2 separate regions of the Homo sapiens genome follow, and region 2 is linked to region 1. The links are contacts of gene promoters, found by promoter capture Hi-C in human tissues and cell types (Jung and others, 2019). All regions are on one chromosome and are shown on one strand. The core of a region is centred on a gene start or on the middle of the fragment in contact, and the rest is flanking DNA. Distances in the headings are between cores, read along the strand shown.

What was found. Contacts are between HindIII fragments. The study calls those that stand out against the background at their distance.
Region 2: a contact is called between a fragment that was not itself captured here and the fragment with the promoter of SPACA1 in region 1, in 2 of the 25 tissues and cell types used here (hippocampus and stomach).

The regions. Positions count from the first base shown.
Region 1 is chr6:88,045,440-88,049,693 of GRCh38, forward strand. It overlaps SPACA1 (sperm acrosome associated 1), which reads left to right and starts at 2,402. Exons shown (of 7, transcript NM_030960.3): 1 at 2,402-2,674. The coding sequence starts at 2,467. The HindIII fragment of the contact is 21,921 bases long and covers 1-4,254 here.
Region 2 is chr6:88,078,603-88,082,856 of GRCh38, forward strand. No RefSeq gene overlaps it. Among named protein-coding and RNA genes, the nearest start is that of SPACA1, 33 kb to the left of the region's middle. The HindIII fragment of the contact is 4,615 bases long and covers 1-4,254 here.

The DNA.
Region 1 (4,254 bases), core at 1,152-3,651:
AACTGAATGTGTGTGTGTGTGTGTGTATTTTTTCATGCTCGTGGCGTGTATCAGTGATTTTCATCTTCTTTTTTGGTATGTGGTCATCTCAAGCTGCCCAACGAATGTTTTCACTTGACTTCTGTTGATACCTCCAACTTAACCTTTAAACAAAATGTCTACTGACTTTCCTAATTCCCTTTATTTGCTCCCTCCCTCACTCCCTTATCCTGCTTAGGCAGCCAGTCATTCCATTTTGTTAATCCTTCCTTTGTTATTTCTCTCACATTCATTTCTCTTTTCATTTTTATGGTAATCCTTTATTTAGGCCTTGATTATCTTGTGCTTATATCACACATACACAAATTGGTCTTCCTTTTCAGAATACAAATTGGTCTTCAAGGGTAGGTAGTGCAGAGACTGGATAGAGGAATGATTTTCCCACATACCAAATGAGGCCAAGCAAGGTAAGGTCAGACCAAGATAGGTGAGCTATGTTTGGGCAGAGTGGGGCAGAGGAGTTTGGGCTCTAATCCCCACCTCTTGGAAATTGGAGATGGGGGTGGAGATGCTTAGTTCCAGGCAGGATGAGGTGGGTCAGAGGAGCATATCAGGGATCCAGGGTGGAATTCCTGCTCCTTAGTATCTGCAGGTTAGAGTAGGGTCAGTCCCTCTAGATTCTGTGCCCTGCCCTTCTGGCTAAACACTTATCTTTCATTTATTTGTGGCTAGAGAGAGTACTAGAGAGACAGTAAAAGTTTGTTGAGGACAGATATTATACTTTTTCTTATAACTTACATGCGTGACATGGTATTTTATAGGTGATTTATAATGCTGCTATTAGAGATATTAATAGTCTTTATTTCAGAGTTAAATCTTTCAGGTCCTCTTTGAGACCCATCTGGCTCCCTTTGGAGATGATTATTTGTTAGATTATTAATGTTTCCTTGAGTCAAATTACATATTTTAGAGTTTATGGGACTTCCTCTGCTAAAAAAGGATACTATCTTCAGGAAGCAATGGATCCTAAAATTGACTTTGAAACACTCAACAATTTGCCAGCAACAATACTATATATCATCTTTTTAAAGTTTGTGTTTGACGGCATAATTTTTGACTTATTTCTCTCAGGATTCAAAAAAGAAAAATTTTGACTCATTTAGCCATGAAACAAAGGCCTTTACTTCTCAAGATCAAATCTAAGTTTTCCATGTTAACGTCCCTCATAATCTTGTCAAGCGCTATATTTTAAGGTATTTTAATTGACATAAATGTTCCCGAGACTTCTCACCAATACCAATTTGAACTTTAACACTGAAGGTGTTTAGCAGTCCTTGTATTTTCAAAATTAGAAGCCTTTGCAGGAGAAAATATTCAAATACAAAATTTCAACTTCTGCTTCAAACAACCTATTTTGTTACAAATAAGTGTTTCTGAAGAACCTCTTAATACTTTTCTGTTACCCCCCTTATCTGTTAGTCTGCTGAGACTAGATATTCAAATATTCCAAAAGCCAGAGTGTATGCAAGTTCACTTTCATCTCACTTGTCATAGGAATTTAAACATTAAGCCTCAAAGTATGGCACCCTATATGTCTTTTCAAAAACAACAACAAACAACCACATTGTGACTACTAGATGAGGTAAAATTTGTAATAACAGAATCAAAAAAGTCAACCCTAACTTTTCAGCGCTTGAACTCCCAATCACCCCCACTAAAGGCTTCTTCGTTAACCTTGAATCATAAGAATCACTGATCATCGAGTAAGTAAGTGTTCGGGAGATATGACTGTGAGATCCAGCTTTGTAAATAATTTCTGGATTTTTGGGGCGAGTCATTTCATCTCTCTGATTCTTAATCTCTTCACTTAAAAATGAGGGACTTGGAGTATCAGATGATTTCTAAATTTCTTCTTACTCAAAGTCTATTATTCTGATCCCAAAGAAGAAATCGAATCCTTCTCAATACATCCCAAATTGGATATTCTGGATAAGAAATTTTGAAACCAAGTCACACGAAGAGTATGTGAGGGATAAGAAGTCTAGTTTGGGGAAGGGTAAACATTATGTACGAAAAAGAAATGTCTTAAAAGAAAGCAGGCAGGGTGAGCGAGGAGGCTGAAGAGTCGCTCCATAAACTGAGGCAGAAGGAGCAGCCGACAGCAACGCCTACCGCACCCGGAAGGCTCAAGGAGGCGCCCTGGGCAGGGAACTTCCGGTTGCGGGGAAGGGCGGCGTCCTCTCCTAGGGACTTGTCGCACGCGGCTTCTCGTCGCGTTCCGTCTTGCACGCCTCGCAGCCTAGCTCCGCGCGAGTTCCAGGCGCTCAGCACCGGAGCAGCGCCCCGGCAACCATTGAGGCGTCACGGTTCGTCACGGGATTCGGAGCCGGGCGGCTACGGGCGGGGTGTCGCAGCTCTCTTCGACGTACCTGTCCTCAGGAGCCGCGGCGGCGACTGCGCCTCGGACGGCCGTCGGGGCCGAGAACCATGAGCCCCAGGGGCACGGGCTGCTCCGCCGGGCTGCTGATGACTGTCGGCTGGCTGCTTCTGGCGGGCCTCCAGTCCGCGCGCGGGACCAACGTCACCGCTGCCGTCCAGGATGCCGGCCTGGCCCACGAAGGCGAGGGCGAGGAGGAGACCGAAAACAACGACAGCGAGACCGCGGAGAACTACGCTCCGCCTGAAACCGAGGATGGTGAGGGCGGGAGCTCCCTTGCGGGGCACGCGGAGGCCCCTGTTGACGGAGCAAAGGCCTGCTCTTTGCCTGAGAACCATAATTATGTGTGTTAACGTCAGGAGAGCTCTCTCTCATACTTCAGCCCCGAGTTTGTCCCTTTCTTGCATCCTGTGGCCTTGAAGAAGAATGTGCTCATTCTCCCAGGCCACAGCAAGATACACAGATAAGCACGTATATAGAAATTGCTATAGAAACACTTCTAAATATTGCTTTGGACAAGGAAAAAGATTTTTTTTCAGGGTGGGAGGTAGCCTTCCAACAAGAGGAATCATTTTGACTCCTCTTGCAGTCACTTTCCCTTCTCATAGTAGATTTTTTTTTTCAAGTTCCAAGTTGCTTGATTTCCACATTTGCACTTGGGGTTGCAATGGAATTCAGAATCCCCCTTTACGACGATACACCCAGATAGACCAGTATGCCGACAAAACTGCCCAGAAGCCCCATGGCAGCTTCCTGCAGCTCCTAGCCTTGAGCACCTCTGCATTGTGGTGTTTGATTGGTATGTGCGGCCTCGGACAAAGGAATGGAGCAGTAGAAAACACCTGTCAAGGGATCCAGCTAGTGGCTTTGTTAGATGCTACATATTAACCAAGGAACAATGAGCCCCCCGCTTGGTACATACATTTGCTTTTTTTTCTGCTGGCTCATTAAGCAATAAAACTTGACAGGCTGTTGTACATGTCATATTGATTAGTAACTCACATTCTAGCAGGTAGAAGGTCAGCAGCAGGTTTGCTGCCTTCTCAAGAAAGATTATTCCTTTCCCTTCTAAATGACCCAGCTGCAATTCTTTTAATATTGTTTGCATTCTCATATCTCTTCAGTCTATACATATCGAGTGACTGCTGTGTCTACCAGCCTTTCTTTCATTTCCTGATAGTGATCCTCAGCACCAACAGAAAGAAATGAACTGTCTGAGGTTAACAGTGGGATCGAGGTTTGCACGGCCTTGTAACATTATACTACAGAGAGCTTAAAAAGATCCTTGACTTCGGAAATGTGAAAAAGAAAGATGACTAGGAAAGAAGAGAACACGTCCTAAAGCATAGTAGCTATTGCTTCATTCTCTTCTTTAAAGTAATTGAATTAACAATTTTAGTATTAAACTGGCCAAGAAATACTTCTAGCTATAAAATGCTAAATATTATTTAGGCTAAACTCAGGCAATAAAGTTATAATGTCTTACCTTCAAATTAAAATGTAGGTTAGTTACTTATTCTCTGAGTCACAGTTTCCTCATCTACGGACTTCAAGGAATCCATGTACTTTGTGGGATTTTAATACATACTATTTCATGCATAAGTGCTTTTTCTTGGGGAGCGAGAGAATCCAAAACTTTAAACAATCTGAGGTGTTATAGGTCTGAAAATTTCCAGAACCATTATTGAAATTTGCACTGTCCCCTTAACCCTCAGTGGATCAGTAGAAACAGTTATCCCCATTTACTATCCAGTGGACCTTTAATTTTTTTTTAGTCATTTAAAAATAATTTACAAATAAGAATAAAGGGATAGTGAAAACAACTGTGTTAGAAATTT
Region 2 (4,254 bases), core at 906-3,405, 33 kb after region 1:
AAAAAAATGCATATGCTGTTGCTGTGGTACACATATTATACCTTTTACTTAAAAGTGCTTTGATGGCATTCAGCTAACCTTCCTAATGCCATGTGAGATGATCCTGAGTATAATTATAATCAACAGAGCTGAGAAGTTTTTGCTTGGCTCATGATCTCCTTGAATCTTTATATCTGTATGAGGTCAATGTTAGCCTCCTTTTAAATATGAGGAAACTGAGGCTTAGAAGAAGTTGAAGAACTCACCATCACAGTATTGTGTGAGTGCTGAGTGATAGTTAACACCCGCTTTTCTGACCTAAAAGTCCAGTGCCCTTCCCACATACTACCAATTTATGAGCATGATATGCATAAGATGGCAATAAAGTAACCAGAAATTCTGAACATAGATAGATATAAAAAGGGAAGGCAGAATTTAATAGGCAAACCTATGGATCTTAATGAAATCATACAGCCAACTGTACTCCTAGGTTGAAAATTGGGGGAGACCTAACAGAAGCCATGCTGTAGCATCTTAATGCAAATGGAGTAATATCTCTTGGTTACTCCAGAAGTCTGAAGGTCATAACTCTAGATGCTATATTGCTATAGATAAATTTCAGACCAATATGATGACTCTGTCAACTATCAGAAAAGCTATAATGAGCAGTGCGAAGTAGCCAGGGGAGTGGGGTAAAGGTGGGACAATATCGGAAGAAAAAGAAAGAACAGAATCCATGGGAATAGTCAGGGGGCTGTGACCTTGTGTAAAAGACTGAATCAGGGTGCAAAACCCTACAGAGAAAGGCTAGGGAGTTTGTGAAAGAAGTCATGTAAATACAAGGAAATGACCTTCTCAACAAGGGAAATGGAAACAAGGAACATGAGAAAATAACTTACTACAGATGGCCAAGAAGTCACTTACATCACTATTAAACACAGCCACACTGAATGAAATTGGCAGAACCCAGCTCGAAGCTCATTACATAAAGAAGCTCATTTCGTGAAGAAACATGAGTTACAGAGATAATTGCTTAATAACTTACAGGCTTCTGGCAAAATGGAGGTGTCAGATGGGGCTGGGTTACAAAAGTTTTTTAGGTGGAAATTTTAAAGGACCATGGCTTTAGGTGGTTCTCATGTCACTGAGGAAACACCAGTGGGTCCCCACTGTGTCAATGGGAGTATACAAAGCCTCTCACTGCATGACTAAAGATAGGTTAAAGTGTGTCAGTGTTTTCACTAGGAAAAAAAAGTAGGTGCCTTTATGCTATTAAATTGCATATTACCTTATTAATTAATTCCATAATAATGTTAGAAATTTGATATTATTCTGGTCCAAGGGAGCTCCATGGAAATTTTCTTTCCAGAAAGGAGGATATTGAAAGAAATACAGCCACAATTATTTTGTTAAATATGAGAGACAGGAACAACTGGTTTTTGTTTTGTCAATAGAGATGATAACACATGTGATAATGTCAACAATATATTATCTATGTCTCATTCAATAGGGTGCTTTGCCCAAGATTAGACCTCCTATATTTTTTGATAGAATTGGGGTAAGGGTCTGAAACTTCTATTAGAGGTAGAGATATGATATGAATTCTACTTTAAGATAAAATTGTCTTTTTTTGTATATTGGGAAAACATCTATTTTAGCTCTCTGGTTAAGCAAAGATGAAGCAAAAATAATTTTTTTAAGTGGTAGGGGTGATGGGCTCTACAGTTCAGTCACAAGTTTGTCTCCTTGTGAGAGGAATCATATCCCAGCAGAAGCTGCTCTGAGCCTGGGAGTGAGAGGAAGCCTTTGAGGAGTTGAGGGCTTGGGCTGGGGAGTGGAGACAAGGCCAGGCTGGCAATGGCCCCTGGGAAGAAGGCCATGACCTAAGGAGGGAGACAGTAACATGGGACTCTGCTAGGCATGGGGACCTTGAGCACATTTAAGCTTTCTACCAATTTTATAAGTTTTCTATGCTTTAATTCCCTTTTGCAATTCTTAAGCCAAGAGTAAGATTTGGTTTAATACAGTTGTCTGGTCTTAGCTGTGTTTTGGAGAATTGGGAGACAGATCTGTGCCCACACTTGGGGAAAAGGGTGAGAGGAAGGGAGCAACAGTGTGAGGAGGCACAGGGGTCATCAAAGGGCCAGAAGGTGACAGAGTACAGCCAGACAGGAGTGTGGAACTTGCAAGCAGTCCTCCTAGGTTCATTGAAACACAGAGGGGTAAGCGACAACTGTGTTAATAACTTGACAAAAAAAAAATCCCAAAACTTTTGCCCCTCTGTACACATTTTTACACATCAATATCAGGTCCAGTGGTCAAGTAAATAAATATTAATAATTATTTGCTCCTGCTGAGTAGTTCACACAAAGTCTTGAGATAGCTCCTCTCCCATCCCTTTTCCTTATTCTGCTCTGTACAAACCAAGGGACTCATCAGGCATTGGCCGGAGTCAGACTGCCATCTGTAGCCTGGAGCATCTTCACCTCTGGTTGAACAGACACTTGGAAGGTTGAGACCTCTGAAGCAAGGTTACCTCTTTACCCCAACCCCTAATCAAATATGTCGCCTCTGCCATTTCTTCAACATTCTAGAGGGTAATCAGAGATTTATAGCTCAGAGAAGGAAGCATGGGAAAGTGTTATAACTTTAAAGACTCAACACCTCTTTTAGTAGTCATGGCCCTTTTTGGGAACCTGTGGTAAACTTTGTAAAAGATAAAGCCTTCTTGGTGAGCTGATTCTTGGGAAGTTTTATTGGCTAGGTGGCATCTTTCATGCAATATTCTAGTTCAAGGGCAACTCCAGAATGGAAAATGTAAAATAATTGTTAGCCAAAAATGTCACTATATTTCACTGGCCTCCCCAGCTCATCAGTCCATGTACCAGAAGGGACCTTAAGAGGGGGACTTTCTGATGCTATCCAGGTCAGGACTTTGTTCTCTAAGATAATCTGTGGTTTATATAATCATAGATAGGTTCCTTACTGTGCTATGGAGAAATTTGTTACCTAAGTTTTACCCACCAGTAATAAGTTTCTCCAAAGCACAGAAAGGAATCCATTCTAAGCCACTCTTCTTTAGAAAGCAGCAAGCAGAAGCTTATTTTTAACCAGTTAGTTGGGATCAGCTGAAGGAACAAGAGTATGACAGGAAGAATATTATGCAAGTATCAGATAATCCACTACATTTAAGGTTAAAAAAAAAACCCTTACATTGGGTAAGGAGGCAATCTCAAAAGTTTTTTAATAAAAATTTACTTTCTATTTTATTGTTGCTACTGCTGCTGCTTTTTAGCATTTCCTATTTTATTTTGATAATAGAAAATAAGAGGTTTCTGAAACTTATTAACAATTATCAATAGAAATGATGTGGGATTTGAGGTTAGAGAGATGTAAAAATGTACTGTGTCTCTGCCACCTATTTTGTGTGTGACTGTGAGGAAATTATGTACAGTCTAGGGCTTCTCTTTCATTTTCTGTAATCATATCTACCTCATTGGGTTTCGGGAGAGGTAATAAAGAATCCAAATATACAGCACCTGAAATGCTGTCTGGTACATATTAGACACGATAAATGGCCATTTTTATTATTATGACTATTGAAATAGTTTTTTAACTGTTGCAGCACAAGCCCTTCACACTCAAAAAATTAGAACAGCAGAAACATAACATAATGAAGGCTTGGAACTAAATTTGCCCATTATAGCAACTTTTAAGTATCAATTTAGTTTGCAAAGTTTAAGATTTCCTGAAGAATACCAAAATTCCCAAGACATACAAATATAGTTTGGCTGTGTCCCCACCCAAATCTCATCTTGAATTGTAGTTCCCATAATTCCCATGTGTTGTGGGAGGGACCCGGTGGGAGATAAATGAATCATGGGGGCAGTTTCCTCCATACTGTTCTTGTGGTAGTGAATAAGTCTCACAAGATCTGATGGTTTTACACAGGGTTTCCCCTTTCAGTTGGCTCTCATTCTGTCTTGTCTGCTGCCATGCAAGATGTGCCTTTCACCTTCCACCATCATTGTGAGGCCTCCCTAGCCACGTGGAACTGTGAGTCCATTAAACCTCTTTTTTTAATAAATTGCCCAGTCTCAGGTGTGTCTTTATCAGCAGCATGAAAACAGACTAATACAGTAACTTTCTACTACAGAAAATTGAGTAAGAGGATGGCAGTCCCTGATGGCCAGGAGCAGACCTGGCATTTGCAGCTAGACCGTGGTGTCCTCCTGTTGAACATAAATAATTTAATAGAAAACCATTTTCAGGTAC